2 separate regions of the Homo sapiens genome follow, and region 1 is linked to region 2. The links are contacts of gene promoters, found by promoter capture Hi-C in blood cells and fetal thymus (Javierre and others, 2016). All regions are on one chromosome and are shown on one strand. Each heading gives the region's core, a stretch centred on a gene start or on the middle of the fragment in contact. The rest is flanking DNA. Distances are from core to core; before and after follow the strand shown. Region 1 has its middle 42 kb from the start of JDP2-AS1. Region 2 holds the start of FOS (Fos proto-oncogene, AP-1 transcription factor subunit).

The links. The method cuts DNA at HindIII sites, captures the fragments that hold promoters and counts their contacts. A CHiCAGO score of 5 or more calls a contact.
Region 1: a contact is called between a fragment that was not itself captured here and the fragment with the promoter of FOS in region 2, in 1 of 17 cell types (monocytes). The highest score is 5.5, in monocytes.

Annotation. Positions count from the first base shown.
Region 1 is chr14:75,382,711-75,388,603 of GRCh38, reverse strand. No RefSeq gene overlaps it. Among named protein-coding and RNA genes, the nearest start is that of JDP2-AS1, 42 kb to the left of the region's middle. The HindIII fragment of the contact is 3,002 bases long and covers 1,365-4,366 here.
Region 2 is chr14:75,275,445-75,281,328 of GRCh38, reverse strand. FOS (Fos proto-oncogene, AP-1 transcription factor subunit) reads right to left here and starts at 2,501. Exons shown (of 4, transcript NM_005252.4): 1 at 2,206-2,501; 2 at 1,201-1,452; 3 at 662-769; 4 at 1-546. The coding sequence starts at 2,346. RefSeq lists enhancers at 1-71, 72-631, 658-1,583, 2,170-2,229, 1,584-2,511 and silencers at 2,600-2,659, 3,010-3,099, 3,828-4,337. The HindIII fragment of the contact is 6,704 bases long and covers 1-4,682 here.

The sequences.
Region 1 (5,893 bases), core at 1,616-4,115, 110 kb before region 2:
CTGTTCATTGCTGGTATACAGAAAAACAGTTGGCATTTGTATTAGGTTGGTGCAAAAGTAATTGCAGTTTTTACCACTACAAGTAATATATTGACCTTGTAGACTGCAACCTTGCTATAATTGCTAAATAATTCCAAGTTTCTCATGGGTTTATTTTTTGGTTTTGTTTTCTTTTGTTTTGCTTTTGCTATTGTTTTTGTCAATTCTTTGCATTTTTTCTACACAATCAAGTCAACTATGAACAAAGACAGTTTTAGTTCTTCCTTCCCAACCTGCATATATTTTATCTCATTTTCTTTTGTTTTTTAATTATAATACTAGCTAGGATTCCCTGTACAGTGCTCAATAAGAGGGGTGATAGGGGACATACTTGCCTTGTTCCAGTCATAGGAAGAAAGCATCCAGTTTCTCACTGTTAAGTATGATGCTAGTTGTAGGCCTTTTGTAGATGTTCTTTATTAAGTTGAGGAAGAATCCGCTATTCCTAAGTTGTTGAGAGTTTTTATAATGAATGGTGATGGATTTTATCAAACGCTTTTTTTGAATCAATTGATGTAATTATATGATTTTCTTCTTTATCTTGTTGATGTGAATTACATTGATTGATTTTTAAATGTTGAAACAGTCTTGCATTCCTGGAATAAATCCCACTTGGTCATGCTCTATAATTATTTGTATACATTATTTGATTTGATTTGTTAATATTTTGTTGAGGATTCTTGAATTTATGTACATGAAAAATAATAGTCTTTACTTTTCCTTTCTTGTAATGTGTTTTCTGATTTTGGTTTTAGAGTAATGCTGGCCTCACAGAATGAGTTAGGAAATGTTCTTTGTGCTTCTATTTTCTGAAAGAAATGTTCCTTAAATGTCTGGTAAAACTCACCAGTGAAATCATCTGGGCCTCGTGCTTTCTTTCGTGGAATACTATGAATTATTGATTCAATTTCTTTGATAGATGTAGAACTATTCAAACTATCTCTTTCTCCTTGTGTGAGTTTTAGTAGTTTGTGCCTTTTGAGGAACTGATCCATTCATCATAGTTATCAAATTTGTGGGTATAAAGTTGTTCATAGTATTCTTTTATTATCCTTTTAGTGTCCCTGTGATCAGTAGTGATAGCCTCTCCTTCATCTCTGATATTGATAATTTGTGTCTTCTCTCTTTTTTTCTTGATTAGCATGTGTAGAGGTTTATCAATTTCATTGATCTTTTCAAGGTACTAGTTTTTGGTTTTGTTGATTTTCTCTACTGTTCTCCTGTTTTCAAATTTATTGGTTTCTTCTATAATTTTTATTATTATTTTCTGCTGCTTGCTTCGAACTTAAATTAGTGTTCTTATTCCAGTTTCCAAGGTGAAAGCTTAGATTGTTGATTTTAGATATTTCTTCTTTTCTAATATATGCATTCAATGCTATAGATTGCCCTCAAATTTCTACTTTCACTGCATCCCACATACATTGATAAGTTGTATTTTCATTTTCATTTAATTCAAATATTTTAAAATTTCTCTTGAGACTTTTTTGGCCCTTGTGTTCTTTAAATGTATGTTGTTAAATCTCTAAATATTTTTGGATTTTCCAGCCACCTTTCTGTTACTGATTTTTAGTTTAATTCCATTGTGGTCTGAGAACATACGTTGTATGATTTCTATTCTCTTAAGTGTGTTAAGGTGTGTTTTATGGCTCAGAATGTGGTCTGTCTTGGTGAATGTTCCATGTGAGTTTGGGAAGAATGTATACTCTGCTCTTGCTGCTTTGAATATTCTATAAATGTCAATGAAATCAAGTTGATTGGTAATTCTGATCAGGTCAACTATATCCTTACTGATTTTCTCCCTGCTTGATTTATCAATGACTGAAAGAGAGGTGTTGAAGTCTCCAATTATAGTAGTGCACTTGCCTAACTCTCCCATCAGCTCTGTCAATTTTTTTTTTTAAGATGGAGTTTTATTTGTTGCCCAGGCTGGAGTGCAGTGGCATGCTCTCAGTTCACTTCCACCTCCACCACCTGGGTTCAAGCGATTCTCCTGCCTCAGCCTCCTGAGTAGCTGGGATTACAGGCACCCACCACAACCCCCGCTAATTTGTGTATTTTTAGTAGAGATGGGGTTTCACCATGTTGGCCAGGCTAGTCTCCAACTCCTGACCTCAGGTGATCCATCCCTGTCAGCCTCCCAAAGTGCTGGGATTACAAGCGTGAACCATTGCGCCCATCCAGTTCTGTAAATTTTTGCATCACACATTTTGATGCTCTGTTGTTAGGTGCATACACATTATGGATTGTTATGTCCTTTTGGACAATTGGCCCGTTTATCAATGTGTGATTCCTCTGTTTAGTCCTGAGAATTTTCATTTTCCAAAGTCAGCTTTGTCTGAAGTTAATGGAACTACTCCAGCTTTGTTTTCTTAGTGTTACCATGGTGTGTCTTTCTCCACTCATTTACTTTTAACTTATCTGAATCATGATATTTAAGATGGGTTTCTTATAAGCAAAATATAGCTGTGTCTTGTTGTGTTATTTAGCCACTCTGATAATCTCTGTCTTTTAATTTGTATACTTAGACCAGTCACATTTAAAGTGATTATTGATATAGTTGGGTTAAATCTATCATGTTTGTAACTGTTTTCTATTCATTGTACTTATTCTTTGCTTCTTTTTCTTCTTCCCTGTTTTTCTTGCCTTCTCTGAGCATTATTTAATTGAGCATTTTATATGATTTCATTTTATCTGTTAGCATATCAATTATATTTCCTTTAAAATTTCTTTTAGTAGTTAGCCTAGAATTTGCAATATACAATTACAACTAATTTAAGTCACTTCAAATAAAACTATACTAATTCACATGTATTGTAGGTACCTTATAACAGAATTTCCAATTCCTCCTCTTCTCCCTTATAACATTGCTGTCATTCATTTCACTTATTCATATTCTATAATTTACCCAATAACTTATTATTTTGCTTTAAACAGTTATCTTTTAGATCAATTAAGAATAAAAATAATTTTTTTTTTGAGATGGAATCTCACTCTGTCGCCCAGGCTGGAGTACAGTGGCACAATCTCAGCTCACTGCAACCTCTGCCTCCTGGGTTCAAGCGATTCTCCTGCCTCAGCCTCCTGAGTAGCTGGGATTACAGGTGCATGCCACCACACCCGGCTAATTTTTGTATTTTTAGTAGAGATGGGGTTTCACCACGTTGGTCAGGCTGGTCTCGAACTCCTGACCTTGTGATCCACCCACCTCAGCCTCCCAAAGTGCTGGGATTACAGGCGTGAGCTACCACACCCGGCAAAAAAATAAACTTTTGTTTTACCTCCATTAATTTCTTCTCCAGTGCTCTTTCCTTCTTTATGTGGATCTGATCTTATATCACTAACCTTCTCCCTGGATTATTTTTTTAAAATTTCTTTCAGGGCAAATCTGCTGGCAATGATATCTTGTTTTTGTTTGAAAAGTCTTTATTTCTTCTTTATTTTTGAAGGATAATTTCACTGGATATAGAATTCTAGGTTGGTAGGGGTTCTTTCTCCAACATTTTAATATTTTACTACACTCTCCTCTTGCTTGCATGGTTTTTGACAAAAGATTCTCTGTAGGTATTATCCTTGTTTGTCTATAGGTAAAGGGGCTTTCCCCTCCAGGTTCTTTTAGGATTTTTCTCTTTGTCTTTGGTTTTCTGAAATTTGAATACAATTTTCCTAAGTGTAGATATTTTTGATATTTATCCTGCTTGATGTTCTCTCAACTCCCTGGATCTGAGGTTTGGTGTCTGTCACTAATTTGGACAGTTCTTGACCATTATTATTTCAAATATTTCTTTTGCTGTGTAATCTCCTTTAATTTCTGGCATTCCAATTATGTGTATGTTATATCTCTTGAAGTTATCCCACAGTTCTGGGGTTTCTGTTTTGTTTTGTTTGTTTCTCTTTTTTTCCTCTTCACATTTCAGTTTGAGAAATTTCTATTGACATATCTTTAAGCTCACTGATTCTTCCCTTAGCCAATTCATTCTACTAATGAGCCCATCAAAGGCATTCTTCATTTCTGTTGCAGTGTTTCTGATTTCTAGCTTTTCCTTTTAATTCTTTCTTAGAGTTTTCAGCTCTCTGCTTACATTACCATCTGCTCTACCATGTCGTATGCTTTTTCCAGTAGAGTTCCTAACATATTAGCTATTTTAAATCCCCTGTATGATAAATCCAAAATCTGTGTCATATCTGAATCTGTTTCTGCTGCTTACTTTGTCTTTTCAGACTGTACTTTTATTACCTTTAGCATGCCTTATAATTTTTTGTTGAAAGCCTGCCACAAAGGCAACCAAAGCAAAAATGGACAAATGGGATCACATCAAATTAAAAAGCTTCTGCACAGCAAAAGAAACAGTCAACAAAGTGAAGAGACAATGCACAGAATGGGAGAAAATATTTACAGTATTTCGGAGAAAATATAGAAACAGCTCAAGCAACTCAATAAGAAAGAAATCTAATAATGTGATTTAAGAATAAGCAAAAGATCTGAATAGACATTCCTCAAAATAAGACATACAAATGGCCAAGTATATAAAAAAATGCTCAACATCATTAATCATCAAGAAATGCAAATCAAAACCACAGTGAGATATCATCTCACCCCAGTTAGAACAGCTTCTATCCAAAAGACAGACAATAATGAAAGCTGACAAGGATGTGGAGAAAGGGGAACCCTCACACGCTGTTGGTGAGAATGTAAATTAGCATAGCCACTATGGGGAACAGTATGAAGGTTCCTCAAAAAACTAAAAATAGAGCTACCATGTGATCCAGCAATCCCCAATATACTTTTGGGTATATACCCAAAAGAAAGTAAATCAGTATATCAAAGAGGTATCTGCACTCCCATGTTTATTGCAGCACTATTCACAGTGCCAAGATTTGGAATCAACCTAAGTCTCCATCAACAGATGGATAAAGAAAATGTGGTGCATATACACAATGAAACATTATTCAGCCATAAAAAAGAATGAAATCCTGCCGTCTCCAACAATGCAGATGGAACTGGAAGACATTCCATTAAGTGAAATAAGTCAGGTACAGAAAGACAAGTTTCACATGTTCTCATTCACATGTGGGAGCTAAAAATGGAAACAATCGAACTCATGAAAATAGGGTAGAATGATGGTTACCAGAGGATGGGAAAAGCAGAAGCAGGGAGTAGGGGAAGTGAGGATGGTTAATTGGTGCAAAAGCATAGTTAAGGCCAGGCGCAGTGGCTCACGCCTGTAATCCTAGCACTTTGGGAGGCTGAGGCGGGCGGATCACAAGGTCAGGAGATCGAGACCATCTTGGCTAACAGGTGAAACCTCGTCTCTACTAAAAATACAAAAAATTAGCCGGGCATGGTGGCGGGCGCCCATAGTCCCAGCTACTTGGGAGGCCAAGGCAGAAGAATGGCGTGAACCTGGGAGGCGGAGCTTGCAGTGAGCCGAGATCCTGCCACTGCGCTCCAGCCTGGGTGACAGAGTGAGACTCTGTCTCAAAAAAAAAAAAAAGTGAAATAGAATGAATAAGATCTAATATTTGATAGCACAACAGGGTGACTGTACTCAACAATAATTATGTATGTTAGAATAACTAAAGGAGTAGAATTGGAATGTTCCTAACACAAAGAAATTATAAATGCTTGAGGTGATGCATACTCCAATTATCCTGAGGTGGTTATTACACATCGTATGCCTGTATCAAAACATCATATGTGTTCTACACATATATTCACCTACTATGTACCTATAAAAATTAAAAAATTTAAAAAACCAAAAGCTGGCCATGATGTATAGGGTAATAGCAACTGAGTTAAAAAGTGTTTAGTATGGCTGGGTGTGGTGGCACACACCTGTAATCCCAGCACTTTGGG
Region 2 (5,884 bases), core at 1,252-3,751:
GTCAGCCTCGGGGTAGGTGAAGACGAAGGAAGACGTGTAAGCAGTGCAGCTGGGAGTACAGGTGACCACCGGAGTGCACAGGGGCTCCAGCTCTGTGGCCATGGGCCCCATCCCCAGGGAGCCACTGTGCAGAGGCTCCCAGTCTGCTGCATAGAAGGACCCAGATAGGTCCATGTCTGGCACGGAGCGGGCTGTCTCAGAGCCACTGGGCCTGGATGATGCTGGGAACAGGAAGTCATCAAAGGGCTCGGTCTTCAGCTCCATGCTGCTGATGCTCTTGACAGGTTCCACTGAGGGCTTGGGCTCAGGGTCATTGAGGAGAGGCAGGGTGAAGGCCTCCTCAGACTCCGGGGTGGCAACCTCTGGCAGGCCCCCAGTCAGATCAAGGGAAGCCACAGACATCTCTTCTGGGAAGCCCAGGTCATCAGGGATCTTGCAGGCAGGTCGGTGAGCTGCCAGGATGAACTCTAGTTTTTCCTTCTCCTTCAGCAGGTTGGCAATCTCGGTCTGCAAAGCAGACTTCTCATCTTCTAGTTGGTCTGTCTCCTGTATACAGAGGGATAAAGGAAAGCATAAGACACAGTCTTACTCAAGGGCCCTTATGCTCAATCTCCAACTTTCCCCTTAAGTTTTAAAAAGGAGCAACCCACAGAGTACCTACCGCTTGGAGTGTATCAGTCAGCTCCCTCCTCCGGTTGCGGCATTTGGCTGCAGCCATCTTATTCCTTTCCCTTCGGATTCTCCTTTTCTCTTCTTCTTCTGGAGATAACTAGAATAATCACAAAAAAAGACCGACATTCAGTAAAAGTGTCTGCCATCACCTCCATTCACCCACCCCAGTAGAACTGGCTCCTGCAGCTTCCCTGCTTCCTGGCACCCCACTGTGAAACCATTTCTGACCTGCAGTTGCAGACTAGGTGTGACTTGCATTTAAAATAAGATCCTCAGCAAGAGAACAAAGAAGAGCCCAGTCTGAAAGCATGCGGTAAGAAACTTAGGGAAGAAACTATGAGAGTACTTCTTAGGGTGAGACTCAGAGTCTGAGTTGGGATGGAATGGGCTTGGAGCCAGGGCTCCCAGTTACGGATGTGCAGCCAGCCCCATCAGTGGCTTCATCCTCTGTACTGGGCTCCTGCATCTCCGGGGCTGCTTCCCACCCAGCCCCCACATTCCCAGGAAGAGTACGCTAGAGTTCCTCACCTGTTCCACCTTGCCCCTCCTGCCAATGCTCTGCGCTCGGCCTCCTGTCATGGTCTTCACAACGCCAGCCCTGGAGTAAGCCCCAGCGGAGGGGGCGGGGACTCCGAAAGGGTGAGGGGCTCTGGTCTGCGATGGGGCCACGGAGGAGACGAGGGCGGGCTGCACCAGCCACTGCAGGTCCGGACTGGTCGAGATGGCAGTGACCGTGGGAATGAAGTTGGCACTGGAGACGGCCAGGTCCGTGCAGAAGTCCTAGAACAAAACAGAAGGGGAAAGCCGACGTGAGCGAGCAGGTTCCGGACACAGGTGGGGCGAGTTCCCAGTGCCGCATGCAGCAGTGAAGAGAAACGATCCTGCCACGGACATTTCATCTTAAATGTCCCTCATCCTGGATGAAAGGTCTCCCCCTTTTCCTCCCAGGCATTCCGCAGCGCAGTGCCTGTCTCTTCCATCCTGCCGCTGCGTTCCCGTTATCCCTTCAGCATCACTTGCTTGAAAGGGGGTTTGTTATAAATATCCCTGACGTCTGCGCTGACGCAGGCGCCGCTCCGGAGTCTCCAGAATGAACTCGCTTTTTATCAATGAAACTGCCTTACACACCCGCCCGCTGCACCCTCCTCCCTCATCCCTCCTCCGTGCTCCAGGCTGCCGGGGGAGGGGGGATTGCCGCTTTCTGCCACCTCCCCGGAGAAGCCAGGCTCTAGTTAGCGAGTTTGTGCTTGGGACACGTCTGCTCCAGCTAATGTCAGAGATCCGTCCTGGAGTGCAGACCAGAGGTTGCTCAGAACGAACCTGCCTCCCGAAGGGGGAACCAATTCTTACTATGGCAAGCGTGCGTGCGCTCAGAGCAAGTCCCGAGCCCCCGAGCCGGCACCGCTCCGGCCACGGCAGCCTCCCTCCAGGCACAAGGGAGCCCCCTACTCATCTACTGGAGCGTCCCGCCCGGTGTCTCCTCCTCCGCGACCCCAAGCCCCCGGCCCCGCGGCGACGGGAAGCCAGCCTTACCTGCGCGTTGACAGGCGAGCCCATGCTGGAGAAGGAGTCTGCGGGTGAGTGGTAGTAAGAGAGGCTATCCCCGGCCGGGGACGCGCTGCTGCAGCGGGAGGATGACGCCTCGTAGTCTGCGTTGAAGCCCGAGAACATCATCGTGGCGGTTAGGCAAAGCCGGGCGAGGGGCCGAGGGGCGGAGACAGGTGGGCGCTGTGGAGCAGAGCTGGGTAGGAGCACGGTCACTGCTCGTTCGCTGCGCCGCGGCCGCCGGCTCAGTCTTGGCTTCTCAGATGCTCGCTGCAGATGCGGTTGGAGTACGAGGCGCCGCAGCCACTGCTTTTATAACAAGCGTTTTATGAATGAGTGTAAACGTCACGGGCTCAACCACGGTGGCGCCAGAGGGGTGGCGCGCGGGCCTGGGCGCTTCTGCGGCCGCCCGGCTGCGTCCCCAGCGCTCGCAGCTCCCTGCCCCCGCCTTGGCGCGTGTCCTAATCTCGTGAGCATTTCGCAGTTCCTGTCTCAGAGGTCTCGTGGGCCCCCCAAGATGAGGGGTTTCGGGGATGGCTCCCCCCAGGGCTACAGGGAAAGGCCGTGGAAACCTGCTGACGCAGATGTCCTAATATGGACATCCTGTGTAAGGGGGGAGGGATTGACGGGAACTGCTCGCGGGCTGCAGCCAACACCGAGGGTGCAGTGCGGGGGGAGGCGGGGGCCGCGGCTGGGGGAGGGGAGGCGGGAACGGCGCAGAATGAGAGAGAACATTCGCACCTGGTTCAATGCGGACCCTTGTTCCCGAGGTCGGGGGGGATGGGGCAGAGAGCGCCTTTTTACCCTTGTACGGAAACTGAAGACAGTTCTGAGGCTCAGAGATAGGAGAAACGGCATCGAGTACAGGACCCCGAGGACTTAAGCCTCGGCTCCCGAAGGAATGCGCCCCTACCCCCATCCCCAATTCTAGCCCTAATTCAGTGCAAAGCGTGGAAGCAGACCTTCATCCCCTAACCTCCAGCCCTCGGGCTCGAGCAATACTAGCACTGTTCCTGCGTTTGGAAGCAGAAAGTGGAGGATCCAAAATAAGAGAATACGATAACCTACTTTACGATACTGGGTACTTTATTTATTTATTTTTTTAAAGAAGACAGCGCATTTATTTATTTATTTTTCTCGGCCATGTGTGGGAATATTAAGGAAACTGTCAAATCCCTGAGACACCAGCAGATAAACACTGTGCAAAACCTACGTGCGAAGACATTTGAAGGGGGTGTCTGCCCGGTTCTGAGCTGGGCCCCAGGGGTAGGGAGTGCGAGGTGTGGTTATGTGGGCAGGGTGGTCAGTTCGGGATGACAAGGCGGGGTGTGCTTCCTGCGGGGAACTCAAATCTGCGCTGAGGGCTGGTTCGGTCCCGCCAGGAAGCTGTGCTTACGGGAGCCCGCAGCGGGTGATTTTCCAGCGCGGACTTGGAGGGTGGAGGACGGGGGCTGGAAGGACAGTGTCCAGCTGCGCCTGGGCGGAATACCTCGACTGCTGGGACCCCAGGAGCGGCTCCACGTCCTGGAACACGGGGCTTTGGGGAGGCAAGGTGCTCCAGAGTGTGCCACGCCCCCCAATCTCCTGCCCTGCTGCGTAGGACAGCCGGGGTCACGCTGCCGGGGCTCAGCCCCAGCGCGCTGGCCACCTCCAGGGCGCGAAGACGCATGTCCCCGCACAGCCCCGGTCTTCCCTTCTCCACTCTTCGGGCCCGGGGGTCGGGGCCCGCGGTGGGCACCTGGAGAGGGGCGAGGCAGGATGAGGCCGGCGGGCGGATAGTTCGGGGCGCGCGGGGAGCCGGACCGCAGACCTGCCTCCAGCCGCCGCGCCCGGGAGCCAGGAGATCCTGCTATAGATAGTAACAGGGAAGCGGCTGTTTACAGCAACACAGCGCCGCCAGGGCCGTCTCCAGGCAACGCCGCGCGGCCGGGCGCGCCGTCGGCCTGGCGAGGCCACCCTCCCTCCCAGCTCCCCTGGGCCGCGGCCTCCCCGGCCCGGCCGCGGCCGCTCCCGTCGCCTGACATCATCCGCCGGGTCCGGGGGCTGAGCGGCCCGCGCGAGGCTGTGCGCTAACCTCCATTCTTAGAGATCCAACCCGGCAGGAGCGGGGAGGGCAGGAGGCGGGGATTCGTGGAACTGGGCCACTTGCTATTTTTGCATTCCCTGTCACAGGCAGAGGTGAAAACAGAATTTCATCATTGTATGTCATTGGTTTATGTTGGTGGGAATTTAGGCGCTTTTTTTTCTCACTCATAAAAAGGGAGGGAAACGGAAAAACACACATAATACGTAAACACAGATTCCTTGGAGCTGCTCTGAATCCTAAAGCAATTCTGCGGCCTTCGGTACTTCTAATTCTATCCTTGATTACAGAAAGAAAGAGGGGGACGGGAGGGAAAGGGGTTATGAAGCCAAATACATCTCTCTTATTATTAATATTAGCTTCAGACAAAATAGGTCAAGCTTTGAATTCCTGAGTCTGGCCATGACTGCCATTCACAACTAGATCTCAGGCCACTTAACAGGAAACCTGACTGGGTGCGGTGGCTCACTCCTGTAATTCCTGCACTTTGGGAGCCCGAGGCGGGTGGATCACTTGAGGCCAGGAGTTCGAGACCAGCTTGGCCATCATGGTGAAACTCTGTCCCTGCTAAAAATACAAAACAGCCGGGTGTGGTGGCGCACGCCTGTAGTCCCAGCTACTCAGGAGGCTGAGGCAGGAGAATTGCTTGAACCCGGGAGGCAGAGGTTCCTGTGAGCCGAGATCGTGCCACCGCACTCCAGCCTGGGCAACAGAGCAAGATTCTGTCTCCAAAAGAAAAGAAAAGAAAACCTAGAATGATTTGATTTACTTCCCTTTCAGGTCCAAAGCATCTCGGCCAATACCTAAAAGATGTGTCAAGATTTTATATCCAGGATTTATCTCAAATACACTTATCCTGCCTTTGCCAATTAAAAAAAAAAAAAAGAAGAAGGGTCTTTGAGTGAGCCTATTTCCTCCAGATAGCTTAACTCTTTCCTTCTGGCACCATTATGACCAGAGTTGGAGACTTACTAAATCCATCCTCTGGAAAGGACAAACTAAGTCCATCCTCTGGAAAGGACAAACCATTATTTAACAAATAATTTTGTTCAATTATTTATTTAACAAAACTATTGACTGGGCTGGAGGCTGGTGCTCACTGTAATGAAGAGGGTAGGCCTGTCCCGACCCTCAGAGAGATTCCAGTCTCATAGGAAGACCAACAAGTCAATCGAGCTTACAGGGTAGCAGTAAGTGGTTTGAAAGAGGTAAGAAAGGGGTGCCAGGCAACACAGAAGAAGGCTTGGAAACAGGTCCCAGAGGAGGTGACTGCAATACAGAGATGGGGCTCAGATCCTCTGTCCTCTGGATAATGGAATGATAAAGATTGAGTAAGGCCAGAGCATCATCCAGGCAAACCAAGTGCTCAACCAGAAGCCACAGTATAGGCCAATACAATCTCAGACTCCCTCTCCTGCCCCACTAACATCCGAACCTGTGATCATTCTAACATATTCTCACATCTCAATCTGCTCATGGTATCCATTTCAGGACTGCAAAATCACATTCTAAAAAGTGGAGCTCACACAAGGTAGCCTAAAAATGAAGACAAATCAGAACAAACATGTGAAATTATTTTTGCCA